4 separate regions of the Homo sapiens genome follow, and all the other regions are linked to region 1. Evidence: promoter capture Hi-C in 16 types of primary human blood cells and fetal thymus (Javierre and others, 2016). All regions are on one chromosome and are shown on one strand. Each heading gives the region's core, a stretch centred on a gene start or on the middle of the fragment in contact. The rest is flanking DNA. Distances are from core to core; before and after follow the strand shown.

Region 1 (3,128 bases), core at 456-2,955:
GCACTCCAGCCTGGGCGACCGAGCGAGACTCCGTCTCAAAATTAAATAAATGCCATTTTTGATTTTTTTAAAAATTAACGACTTTAAAATGACAGTTTATAGCTCCTCCTCCCCATTCAGGATCCAATCAAGGTCATATACTGCATTTCATTGTCATGCTTTTTTTTTAATAGCTTGAGGTAAAATTCACATACCAAATGATTGACCCATTTAAAGTGTGCAATTTAATGGCTTTTGGTATATGCACAGAGTTGTGCAACCATCACCAGAAACTAGTTTTAGAACAATTTTGTCACCCCATAACCTTTAGCTGTCACTCCCCAGGTTCCTCATTTCCCCAACCCTATGCAAACCACCAATCTACTTTCTGTCTCCATAGCCTTGCCTACTCTGAGCATTTCACATATGTGGAAGAATACAATGTGTGGTCTGTCTTCTTTCCCTTCACGTTTTGAAAGGTTATCCATGTAGCATGCATCAGTATCAGTACTTCATTCCTTTTTATGGCTGAATAATGTTCTCTTGTATGGGATACTTTATACTATTTATCAAGGGAGGGTTTTCAACAGAGGAGTGGCCTGATCCGAGTGGCATTTAACAAGGTTCACTTTCCTGTTGTTCTAAGGAGCAGAGAATGATCAACTGCGTCAAACGCTGCTTTTAGGGAAAATAAGATGAGGCCCACGAATTGACCAGTAAGTGCTCAAATAGGTTAAGGGAAAAAGGAATTTAATTAGAAGACATATTCTGATATACATTGCTGGGAGTGATTTTTTTTTTTTTTTTTTTGCTTCATGTGAAATTTATTCCTCAAAAAAAAATCATTTTTTCTAAACGTAACTCAACATTATAGTAATTATGCAAGATTTTATGCAGCTTCAAGAGTTAGCCAAGAGAAAAGTTGACTCTTGCAAGAAGATATTTTCAATGTCTATGCAGATCAGGTAGGTAAGAGTTAAGTGCGGGGGAGTTGGCATCATCTAAAAGACTGTAGAAATTGGACCAAAAATGTGGAGTTCTAAAGCAGTATCTCCTTATGGCATGCCATTATTTGGAGCAACAAGGTTACCTACTCGAATCACTGGATCCTGAGTTGACACAAAACGCATCTGTTGACTCAGGGTTTGTATAACCACGTGCAGTATTTACTAGGCTATCCAATTCTGGGTACGTACAACTTCTGGGGCCTGCAAATTATTGGAGAGTGAGTGAGGGGCAACGAAAGATAGACATAAAAGGGCGCGTCTCGAAAGGTAACTGTCAACATGCACTCCACGTTTATAGAACGATTCAGTGGGCGCGGTGGAAGCGTTAATGAACATTTCAGAAAATAAACATATGGAACATCGAAATTCACTTGCAGATAATGGACTAAGTCCGCTCCACCGGGACTAAAAAGGCAGGGTTAGGAAAGCCTGAACGCCGCCACACTGTTTTTTCTCCAGGAAGAAACGGGGCGTGGGGCTGCCGGTAGAAGGGGGTGGCTCCGGCCGCTCCCCCGCGCCGTCCTCCGGCCCCGGCCGCGCTGCGCTCACGCCGGCCGGGCCGGGAATTTGGAGAGGATCCCTGGTCGCGCGGCAGCGGCGGCGGCGCGCGGGTGAGCGGGTGAGCGTGTGAGCGGGCGGGCGGGCAGGCGAGTGCGCCGGGTATTGGCAGCTGAGGAGTGGAGGCTGGGCAGCTCCGACTCCCTGACGCCAGCGCGACCAGATCAATCCAGGCTCCAGGAGAAAGCAGGCGGGCGGGCGGAGAAAGGAGAGGCCGAGCGGCTCAACCCGGGCCGAGGCTCGGGGAGCGGAGAGTGGCGCAGCGCCCGGCCGTCCGGACCCGGGCCGCGAGACCCCGCTCGCCCGGCCACTCGTGCTCCCACACGGACGGGCGCGCCGCCAACCCGGTAAAACGAAACAGACCCGAACCGAACTTTCCCTTCATGCCGCGTCCCAGCCCTCCCCTCGGCGCCCCGGGCTTTCCAGCGCCGCCGCCGCCGTCTCTGCACGCGTGGGGCCGCCGCGGTCGTGCTGGGCTGGGGGCGCGGGCAGCGGCGGGAAGGGGGCTCTTTCTGCGCGGGGCGGGCCGCGACCCCCCCCCCCCATGATGGCGCCTCCCGTCTGCTCGGAGGAGCGAACCTGCTACCACGTCTTCTCGCGCCCAGCCCGCCGGGCTCCCCTGGTGTCTTTGTTGGGTCTTCTGCTGTGGGAAGCCCAGTTCCCGGGCCCCCGAGCCTCGGCTCCCGGGCCTGACCGCGCTGGGATCTCCCCGGCCGCGCTCCCCTTCCGCGCGCTCCTCACATCTCTCCCGTGCTGCCGCCGGGCCGAGGCCCGTTCGCGTGGCCCGCGGACCCATTGTGTCCCCCGCGCCGGCGGGGCGACCCCTGCGGGAGCTGGAGGACGACCGCTGGCGCTGCTCTCCAAGGCGCCTGGTGGAGCGGGTCTCGCGGGCGGGGGACCCCGGCGCCCCGGGCCCCTCCACATCCCGCACGGGTTTTCTTCTCGGCCCCAGCAAGCCTCTTTGGGGTCGAGGTCAAGGAAAGTTCGCACCGAGATCCCCTCTAATTTATTCAAAGGTTTGGCGGCGGCGCGTAATTTTTTCCCCCTCTTCCGCCTACACCCGCTGCGTCTCCTGGTGTCTCGTTCCTTTCCCTTTACCGGAGTCGATTGCCTCACTGCATGTGTATTCGTGAGTTCGCGGTTGAACAACTGTTCCTTTACTCTGCTCCCTGTCTTTGTTAGTGTTTCTCGGGGTTGTTTCTGTAGGAAGGTGGGGGTGGTGGGCGTGAGAGACAGATGTGGGCTTGTTTTTCTAGTTGCTGAAACTGTATGAAGGCTTTAAAGGGAGAACGTTTTCTTGATGTGCTTTAGGAGGGGAGGAGGAACAAATGCCTGCCAGATCTCACAGCTACAGTAGCTGAGCTTTTGTTTATTTTGAAGAGCATGCAATTTTTAAATACACGGTGCAAGATAACCAGTAAAGGCGCGTTCCTTCTGAAAATTGAGGCCGGTCTCAGAACCATCTCCTGAGAAAGCATCCTTTTCGTGAGTGCTGAGACAACTGTCCTTTTTCTCTGCCCTCCCCCCTCTTTTCTTTCCATTGTATCTGAAGTTTCAAAGTACGTGGAATGATACAGAAGTTGC
Region 2 (3,128 bases), core at 418-2,917, 320 kb before region 1:
TCAGTAGAGACAGGGTTTCTCCATGTTGGTCAGGCTGGTCTCAAATTCCTGACCTCAAGTGATCTGCCTGCCTTGGCCTCCCAAAGTGCTGGGATTACAGGCATGAGCCACCGCACCCGGCTATAGGAACTTTTAAGAAATCAGAATACCATAACCTTAATACAGAAATATTTCAAAAAATCATTTAAAATTATAGCTTATGAGGTCATGGTAGCAACTAAGCGGTTCTTTTACTTAAATACTTTAGAACACTTTGAAAAATTCTTACCTTTTCAGGAAAATTATTTTCTGTTACTTGTGAAGGAGAAACATTTGGTTCCCGATAAATTATAAAATCTTTCCTGAAAATAACAATTAGAAATTATTTATAATGGACTATACTTCATGAATTTGAATTTAATCATTCATTCATTCATCAAGGGCCTAATACGTGCCAGGCACTGTCCCAACCACTGGAGATACAAAAGACAATAATGAGATAACTAAGTTGTAAAATATCTATATAAAAGTAACCTTTTTAACATGTAAAATTTCAAATATTATTTGTATATATATTAAATTTCAGATATAATTCTAAAGGGACACTTCAAAAATCAAAGAAATTTTGAAGATGAAATTTAAACAACATTCTGAAAAGAAAAAACAAAGTATTTACCTGCTCCTCTACTAGGCAAAAGTAGCAAAATTGAATACAGGTTGAGCATCCCAAATCTAAAAAGCCAAAATCCCAAATGTTCCAAAATCTAAAACTTTTTGAGCACCAACATGACACTCAAAGGAAATGCTCATTGGAGCATTTTGGATTTCAGATTTTCAAATTAGGGATGCTCAACTGGGTAAGCATAATGTAAATATTCCAAAATTTAAAAAAAAAATGAAATCCAAAAACTTCTGGACTCAATCATTTCAGATAAGGAATACCCAATTTGTAACATGGTATTTTAGTACGGTTCTAGTGGCCATTCAATACCACTGACCCTGAGAAAGTAGAAAATCATTTCTCTACAAAGTTGATAAGTGATATCTTACAGAACATAGACCGGAAAAATTTCTGTACCCTTTTCCAAAGTATTTTGAGAATTAAAATTTCTAAACACTGACATATCTAAATGTCAAAATCTAATTGATGCAATTAAAAAAAACTTAGAAAAGATACTTCATAACTAAAGTATAAAAGAGCTTTGCTATTTTAACATTTTTAATATAATGGAATATAATTTCCCACTGGTTTCATTTTCTTTTACTTATGTTATTACAGTGTTTACCTGTACATAAGAGAAAGGGCACTTATTTCCACTTGTCCTACCCATTCCTGTATTGAAGAAAAAAAGGTGGCATGTAAGTGTCTCACACTTTTTAGATTCCACTTTATATTTCTATACATACCTTCATACAGCATACGTAATGAGTTCTTAAAGCTCATTATTATTAGTAGTATTGTGAATATTATAAAAACGTTTATATAAAACAGACCACAATATGTGGTAAAATGCAGTCCAAGTCTCTCCCACACATACACAAAAAAATACTAACAGGGTGAAATGACAGTTCCTATTGGTGTGGCAAGACCACAGCATGGCATCTGTTAAGTTGAGACTTTTTTTTTTTTGAGATGGAGTTTCGCTCTTGTTGCTCAGGCTGGAGTGCAGCGGCGTGATCTCGGCTCACCGCAACCTCTGCCTCCGAGGTTCAAGCGATTCTCCCGCCTCAGCCTCCCAAGTAGCTGGGATTACAGGCATGTGCCACCATGCCCAGCTAATTTTGTATTTTTAGTAGAGACGGGGTTTCTCTATGTTGGTCAGGCTGGTCTCAACTACTGACCTCAGGTGATCCACCCGCCTCAGTCTCCCAAAGTGCTGGGATTACAAGCGTGAGCCACTGCGCCTGGCCCAAGTTGAGAACGTATTGAAGGCAAGGGCTATCCTCCAGCCTAGCCCTCAGGAGAGCGCCTGGCACATGGTATAAGCTCGGGAAATGAAATACTGAATAGAGGCGGCTGGGCGCAGTGGCTCATGCCTGTAATCCCAATACTTTGGCAGGCCAAGGAGGGCGGATCACCTGAGGTCGGGAGTTCGAGACCAGTCTGACCAACATGGAGAAACCCCCTCTCTACTAAAAATACAAACTTAGCCGGGTGTGGTGGCCCATGCCTATAGTCCTAGCTACTCAAGAGGCTGAGGCAGGAGAATCGCTTGAACCCAGGAAGCAGAGGTTGCAGTGAGCCAAGATTGCACCATTGCACTCCAGCCTGGGCAACAAGAGCAAAACTCGGTCTCAAAAAAAAAAAAAGAAAGAAAGAAATATTGAATAGAAGCAGAAAATTGGGAAGTATAGAAAAGGGCAGAAGATCTCTTCTCTTCAGGGTAAATGAAGGTACAAAAGAGAGCAGTGTCCTAGCAATTGTTTTGAAAACAAGAGAAATTCTACACTCCTTAGAAAAGTCACTTAAAGCCTTTCTGAAAGGCAAATGGCCAGTATGTTTCAAAATTTAAAATGTCCCATATACCCTGTGACCCAGCAATTCAACTTCTATACGTCTATCATAAAGAAATATTTCACATCTACAAAAGTGTATGTAAAATAATGATGTCACTGGGAGTTATTTGTAACAGTGTTTAAAAAAAAAAAAAAGTCCCTAAGATTCCTACAGAATAGTAAAATAATTCATGTTTCAGGCAGGATGTGGTGGCTCACGCCTGTAATCCCAACACTTTGGGAGGCCGAGACAGGCAGATCACGAGGTTGGGAGTTCAAGACCAGCCTGACCAACACAGTGAAACCCCATCTCTACTAAAAATACAAAACATTAGTCGGGCCTGGTGGCACATGCCTATAATCCCAGCTACTCGGGGGCTGAGGGAGGAGAACCACTTGAAGCTGGGAGGCAGCAGTCGAGTAAGCCGAGATCGCGCTGCTGCACTCCAGCCTGGGAGACAAGAGCGAAACTATGTCTCATAAAAAATAATTCATGTTTCAGCCACACTATAGAATATCATGCATTCATTCAAAAGAATGAGGTATAACCACATGAAATGACCTAGAAAAATCACTCAAGATTAAGTTTTAAAAGTAAATCATGGGAAAATAATACTATTTGTGAAAAACAAAAAGGCATATATATTGGTACA
Region 3 (3,128 bases), core at 256-2,755, 280 kb before region 1:
TAGAGCAGCATAAGGCTGATGGATGGTATTTTTTCAAGATGAGTATTTAAGAAAATTCCATAAATAATCTGTGTCAATTACTAGTTTATTGCTTCTTAGCTCCAAATCCACACTTCATTGCCTGCACCATAATAATGAAGCTAGACTTTCTCCTTTGCCAGTTGCCATGATGTTAAGCTTTGTCAGTAGAGGGTGTTGGGGGGATGCTGGCTGGAGAAGAAAAGAGTTTCTCTCTCCCTGGTTGCAGTGTGCTCTTCTTGTCAGGCTCCTGCAGTACTCAGCCACACCCAGTTGCACCCAGTGATTATTAGCATATGGCACCTCCCTATGAACAGCTTTTCATGGGACCTCTTTGGTGACTTGACAGTGGAGTGCTGGCGACAAGTTATTTCTCCATGAACAGCTTCCCCCAGCACTTCATTAGGTGGATTTCCAGCAAGTTTCATTAGTATGGCACCTCCGCAAACTTCTCTGCCATCCACTGAGCTAAGTCCTTGCTGTTTCTATGAGGTCTGGATGTCAGCCCGGAATGGGCTTCCTTATCTCGGTTCTGTGGGTAGTGGCTGCTCCCTAAATCTGCTATCCGTGATATGAACCCAAAAGTACCTGACAGATCTTAATCAATTTAGAAAGTTTATTTTGCCAAGGTTAAGGACACGCCCATGACACAGCCACAGCAGGTCCTGACAACATGTGCCCAAGGTAGTCAGGGTACAGATTGATTTTATACATTTTAGGGAGGCATGAGGCATCAATCAATACATATAAGATGTACATTGGTTCGGTCTGGAAAGATGGGACAACTCAAAGCAAGGGGCTTCTAGGACACTGGTAGGTGAGAGACAAAGGGTTACATTCTTTTTGAGTCCTTGATCAGCTTTTTACTGAGTACACAATTTAGTCTGGCTCAGTGAATCCACATTTTTACATGAATATTAGGGCAGAGGAAGCCATCAGATATGCATTTCTCTCAGGTGAGCAGAGGGATGAGCTTCTGCTCACATCTGTGAAGATAAGCGATCAGGATGAACTTCAACAGAACTGTTTTAGGGTAAAGATCTTGAGGCCCACAAGGAATTTCCTTGTGGGCAAATTGTGAGGGAGGTATGTAGCTTTGTAGGTATTTTATTTAGAAATAAAATGGGAGGCAGGTTTGTCTGACCTAGTTCCCAGCTTGACTTTTCCCTTGGCTTAGTAATTTCCTAGCCTTGTGGAAAAAGTCAGTCTAAGAAAATGAAGTTGACATATAGAGAAAAGCAACAGTAGGAGGAAAATGAAAAAAAAAATGTTGGCGTTAGAGCGCCTGGTTTTAGTATTATCACAGGCACAAATGTGCCCTGGCCCTTACCACGGTTTAGTTACTTGTACCAACTAATTTATTTTTCCCCCTAAGCTACTTTGTGTTAGGTTTCTATCACTTATAATTGAGTATCCTAAAATGTTAACTTTCCTGAGGACCCTTGACCGCATTCTCACTTCCACTCTTTATTCCTTCAGCATATTTTATATGTACTAACCATTTGCTACTTTACACTGTGCTTCTTCCCTAACCGCCCATATGGCACAATTTTACATTTTTAGCTAACGGTATCTAAGGCCATATTTTGCATATATACATTTTGTTATTGCCAATTAGATGGCAATTGGCACATCTGTTACAGTGCCATGCATGTTGTTTGCTATTTAGTTGATGAATGGAAATTCCATAGCGTTACAAATGTGGTTATTTCCCTTTAGGGGTCTTATTTAAATATGTACTACAGGACAGCCCTCCCTCAGTATCCATGGGGTGGGGTGGGGGAGTGTGAAAGGGGGAATTGGTTCCAAGATCGCTGCAGATACCAAAATCCATGCTGTTCAAGTCCCTTGTATGAAATGGTGTCATATTTGCGTACAACCTATGCGTATCCTCTGGTATACTTGGTCATCTCTAGATTACTTATAATACCTAATACAATGTAAATGCCATGTAAATATTTGTTGTGTTTTTTTATTTGTATTTTTTTATCGGTGTATTGCTATTTAAAATGGTTTTTTGCACATATTTTCAACCCACGGTTGGTTGAATCTGCAGATGCAGAACCTGCGGATATACAGGGGGCCAACTGTATATGGTGCCTAAGGAATATTCAGATAGCATACTGTAATAGCAATAGCCTCTATTTGTTAACACTCCATTTTATTTAAGGAACTATGTTTTTCATATATTATCTTGTTTAATTGTCACTCTAGGAAGTTTTGTTATTTGTTTTAAATATGAAAATACTAAAATTACAATAACTTGACAAAACTTGAACCAAGGCTTCACTGACTCCTAAGTTCATCTACTATGCTATACTGCTTCACCCATAGTGTAGATACATTATATTTTGAAAGGAAAACCCCTGAAGGTGTATTGTATATAGTTCAACCTTTGCCTATAAAAGTTGGTTTAGGAAGAATAATTAGGTAGAGCCCAGGGTACAAAAATATTATTACTAAACATTGAACACTGTTCGACTTTTTAAAAAAGTACTGAATCTACCCAAGACAAGGATCCTCTTCATCTGCCTGTTTGATGGTGTGCACACAACGAAATGAGGGCAGTATTAGCAATGTGATTCTATTGGTCTTATTTGCCTTTGATGCTGTTCTATATTGCAGTGAAGAGAAGCTCCAGTCATAGTCCTGAAATAAAACCAGTGACTATTTAAAGCTAGTTTTATTTTTCTGAGAAAAATATAAAATAAAACATATATACAAGTAGCCTTGTCTTAATATCCTCTGACCAAATTGCCTTCTCTTATTCTTTTTTAAAAATTTGTTTGATACATTTCAATATTTTTTTATCAAATTAAGCTTACTGTACATTAAGAAAAGATACACAGAGCAGAATTTTTTCTTTCTTTCTTTCTTTTTTTTTTTTTGAGATGGAATCTCGCTGTGTCACCCAGGCTAGAGTGCAGTGGCGCGATCTGGGCTCACTGCAAACTCCGCCTCCCAGGTTCACGCCATTCTCCTGCCTCAGGAGTAGCTGGGACTACAGGCGCCCGCCACTATGCCCGGCTAATTTTTTGTATTTTTAGTAGAGACGGGGTTTCACCGTGTTAGCCAGGATGGTTTCAATCTCCTGACCTCGTGATCCGCCC
Region 4 (3,128 bases), core at 462-2,961, 260 kb before region 1:
AGAACTTTTTCCTCTTCCTAAACTGAAACTCTGTCCACATGAAACACTAACTTTCTCTTCTCCCCACGACCACAGGCAACACCCTTCTACTTTCTGTCTGTATGAATTTAACTACTCTAGGTACCTCATATGGGTGGAATCACATCTCTCCTTTTGTGATGGGTTTATTTAATTAATTGCCTTCAAGGTTTATCCACGTTATGGCATCTGTCAGAATTTCCTTCCTTTTTAGGGTTGAATAATATTTCATTGTATGTATATAGCACATTTTGTTTTTCCATTCATCTTTCAATGGAGACTGGGGTTGCTTTCACCTTTTGGCTATTCAGCATTGAATTTTAAAAAGACTCTACCCTAGTTTTAATTGTATTTATTTGATTTATTGTAATACTGAACACATACACACACAAACACACAGATTTTGCCCCTGAGTAGCTATTTGTATTTTAAAATTGATTATGCTAAATTTGTCACTCACTTTAGTAGGTATTGTCTGTAAGCAACATAGGAATGTATTAAGCTAAGAACATATCATTTATGTTTATATCCAGGGAGAAAAGTTTTAATATCTTGTCATATATCCTTTTTTTGTTTTGTTTTGTTTTTGCAATTAGCTACAGTTGCCTTTAGGTGGCATTAGATCCTTGGGCATGTGTTACAGAGATTTTTGCTTATTGGATGTGTGTATGTATGTTTTGACAGCTTGATGGATTTAAAAGCTGATCCAAATGTTATTTGAGGTCTAGAATGAAATATAAATTAATATAGAAGCTAGGCATCCTGAGACCTCTTTCATTATGCAACTACATGTTGACTAAATGATGTCTTCCTTTTTTTTTCTACAACAAATATTCTCCAGTTCTTTGCCTTGGATTAGATACTTTTAGAACAAAAATCTTAAAAATGTTCTGAAGTTCAATGTGAGGTTCTAAGCAAAATGGAGACTATTGTTTGGCCCAAATTTTGTAAAAGTTTGGATTGAAAGGGAGTTCTTTCATGTATGTAAGAAATCCCTTATACCTATTTTTCTGAATCAACACTTCAGACATCAGCATTTACCATGGTTGGCATAATGGAAGCTTAAGCCAAATATTTAGCAATAAAGGATGTGGAGAAATTGCCATCTGTATGGATTCCGGTATTTGGAATCATACATATTATCATTCATATTATCACTTTTTTGCTACTTCATTCAGAATTCATGTTTCTGAAAGACACTATTAAAAAAATTCTCAAGGCACTTTGGTTCCTTTAAAAGATGCCTTCCTTTCAGGAAAAGAGAGTCAGATTTTAGCACATTTTACTTGGTTGTCATGGGTTTGACTGGGGCTTGGGGGGTCAAGGGATTTGCCTGGGGTCTCAGGTTGGTGACTTTGTGGCTAGCCTCCTCTACACTGTGTTGGAATCAGCTGGCTCCAAGATCCTTGTTCTGTCTTCCCACTAGACCACATTGTCTTCCAAATGAAACCACAGTAGTGCTGAAAGCAGGAAGGAAACTCTTCAACTCACTTGTTTTATAAAAACTTCTTTTAAGGCAAGGACAGGGAACAGTAAGAATAGCCTTATTCACAGGCGAGTGACTTGAGCCATCTCTGCCTTTTGAATGTTAGCTTTTTCTTTAATAAATTACTCCTGAAAATACTGTTTGTAAAGATCAATGAAATACTTCCTATATATGTTAGTGATAGTTTTTCTTTTCAAGAAAACGTGTTGTTATCATGTCTAGGGTAGAGAGCTAACGAACTTTGAAAACCCATTATGTGGCAGGTGACTTACACTTGTTATCTCAAATAATATTCACAGTAACCCACAATAACATTGCAAATAAGCACGACTAATTCCATTTTATTGGAACAGAACTGGAAGTTCAGAGAGAGTTTTCTTCAAAAAGAAAAACTTGTTTAAATTCCCACAACTAGTAAATGAGAGAATCAAGATGATGGTCCATTCCTATTGAATGCATGTGGAAATAGGAAGAATTTTTTTAAGTTTGAGACATATTTCTTTGCCTATCCCAGATTGACATCTTTTGAATCCATATAAAATTTCACAACTTTTCTTAATAGTCTCAGATTACAATTAATGAATTTTAGATGCAGTTCACAAATTTTTTCTTTTCTATAGTTATATCTTAACCATAATCAGCAGCATCTTATAATTTTTCACTGAATTTGTAATTAGTCTATGTAGGGGGTCGAGGGATATGGGGCTGATCAAGGAACAGGATGTCCACAAGAGAGGCAGTGACAAGTTTGTTGGTGCTTGGCCAGGGTTGCATGAGAGGAGAAGTCCCTCACAGCCTTACTGGTGAGGGAGGAGGACAAGGGAGAGAGAGATTGGAGAGGAAGCTTACATAGAGTCTCTGGGTCAGAGAGCCCAGCTTGGCTTGAGGCCTTATAACTACACGGCCCTGTCTTATGAATAGGTAACAGCTGCTGGGTGAGATTTTGCGGGGTATGCAAAGCAGACAGGCTCTAAGCAGCTAAACTTTTCTTGGTCAGGCTATTTTTAAAATAACTGGATGTGTAAAAATTTAAGTTTGGTGTCAGTGGGCTTTTGAGCTAATGGGTCTCAGCCTGCAGTGGAGAAACAACCAACTTTGAGGCTAATATACAGAGGCTATCTTTGGCTGATTTATGTAACAGTCTATCCCAAGGCACTAGAAGTATTTAACTGTTTTGGGAAAAGATAATAGCTTTTGATCATAGAAAGTATGTGATTCAACTAAACTAATAGTTTATTAGTTCAATGATATTACTCTCTGTGGTTTTATTTACCTATACTTGTATACAGAACAAATACTATTTATAATAAAGGGAAGTAAGTACCCCACCTTCAAATATAATTTTATTCCAGTGTTTAGTATATATGCTGCTGAAATGAGCACAATTTTATTCCAAAGAATTGAATAACATATTCAAATATTTCTGCCTCCAGCTACAGCCACTTAAGGATTCATGGTTTGATAGCAGTAACATGTTTAACATATTTTTATCCATATATGTTTGAATTACATAAACAATGTTTCATCAATATGAAAAGTATAATAAAACCTTAAACTCCTTTTCCATTTTGTAGGTATATATATATGTTTGTCTTTGGTTCATGAAAGCAATTCCTATTTTGCT

The links. Contacts are between HindIII fragments. The CHiCAGO score rates a contact against its expected background, and 5 or more counts as called.
Region 2: a fragment that was not itself captured here is called in contact with the fragment with the promoter of SMAD1 in region 1 in 1 of 17 cell types (erythroblasts); the score reaches 5.1 in erythroblasts.
Region 3: a contact is called between a fragment that was not itself captured here and the fragment with the promoter of SMAD1 in region 1, in 1 of 17 cell types (erythroblasts). The highest score is 6.0, in erythroblasts.
Region 4: a contact is called between a fragment that was not itself captured here and the fragment with the promoter of SMAD1 in region 1, in 1 of 17 cell types (endothelial precursors). The highest score is 7.8, in endothelial precursors.

What each region holds. Positions count from the first base shown.
Region 1 is chr4:145,480,148-145,483,275 of GRCh38, forward strand. It overlaps SMAD1 (SMAD family member 1), which reads left to right and starts at 1,706. Exons shown (of 7, transcript NM_005900.3): 1 at 1,706-1,891. RefSeq lists silencers at 1,475-1,604, 1,775-1,934, 2,275-2,334, 2,425-2,524. The HindIII fragment of the contact is 17,310 bases long and covers 1-3,128 here.
Region 2 is chr4:145,163,886-145,167,013 of GRCh38, forward strand. OTUD4 (OTU deubiquitinase 4) reads right to left here. Exons shown (of 21, transcript NM_001366057.1): 4 at 1,266-1,312; 5 at 269-341. Among named protein-coding and RNA genes, the nearest start is that of OTUD4, 15 kb to the right of the region's middle. The HindIII fragment of the contact is 5,397 bases long and covers 1-3,128 here.
Region 3 is chr4:145,198,959-145,202,086 of GRCh38, forward strand. LOC105377465 (a long non-coding RNA gene) reads right to left here. Exons shown (of 3, transcript XR_939276.1): 2 at 2,525-2,667. Among named protein-coding and RNA genes, the nearest start is that of OTUD4, 20 kb to the left of the region's middle. The HindIII fragment of the contact is 2,661 bases long and covers 176-2,836 here.
Region 4 is chr4:145,216,101-145,219,228 of GRCh38, forward strand. No RefSeq gene overlaps it. Among named protein-coding and RNA genes, the nearest start is that of OTUD4, 37 kb to the left of the region's middle. RefSeq lists an enhancer at 2,413-2,502. The HindIII fragment of the contact is 1,269 bases long and covers 1,078-2,346 here.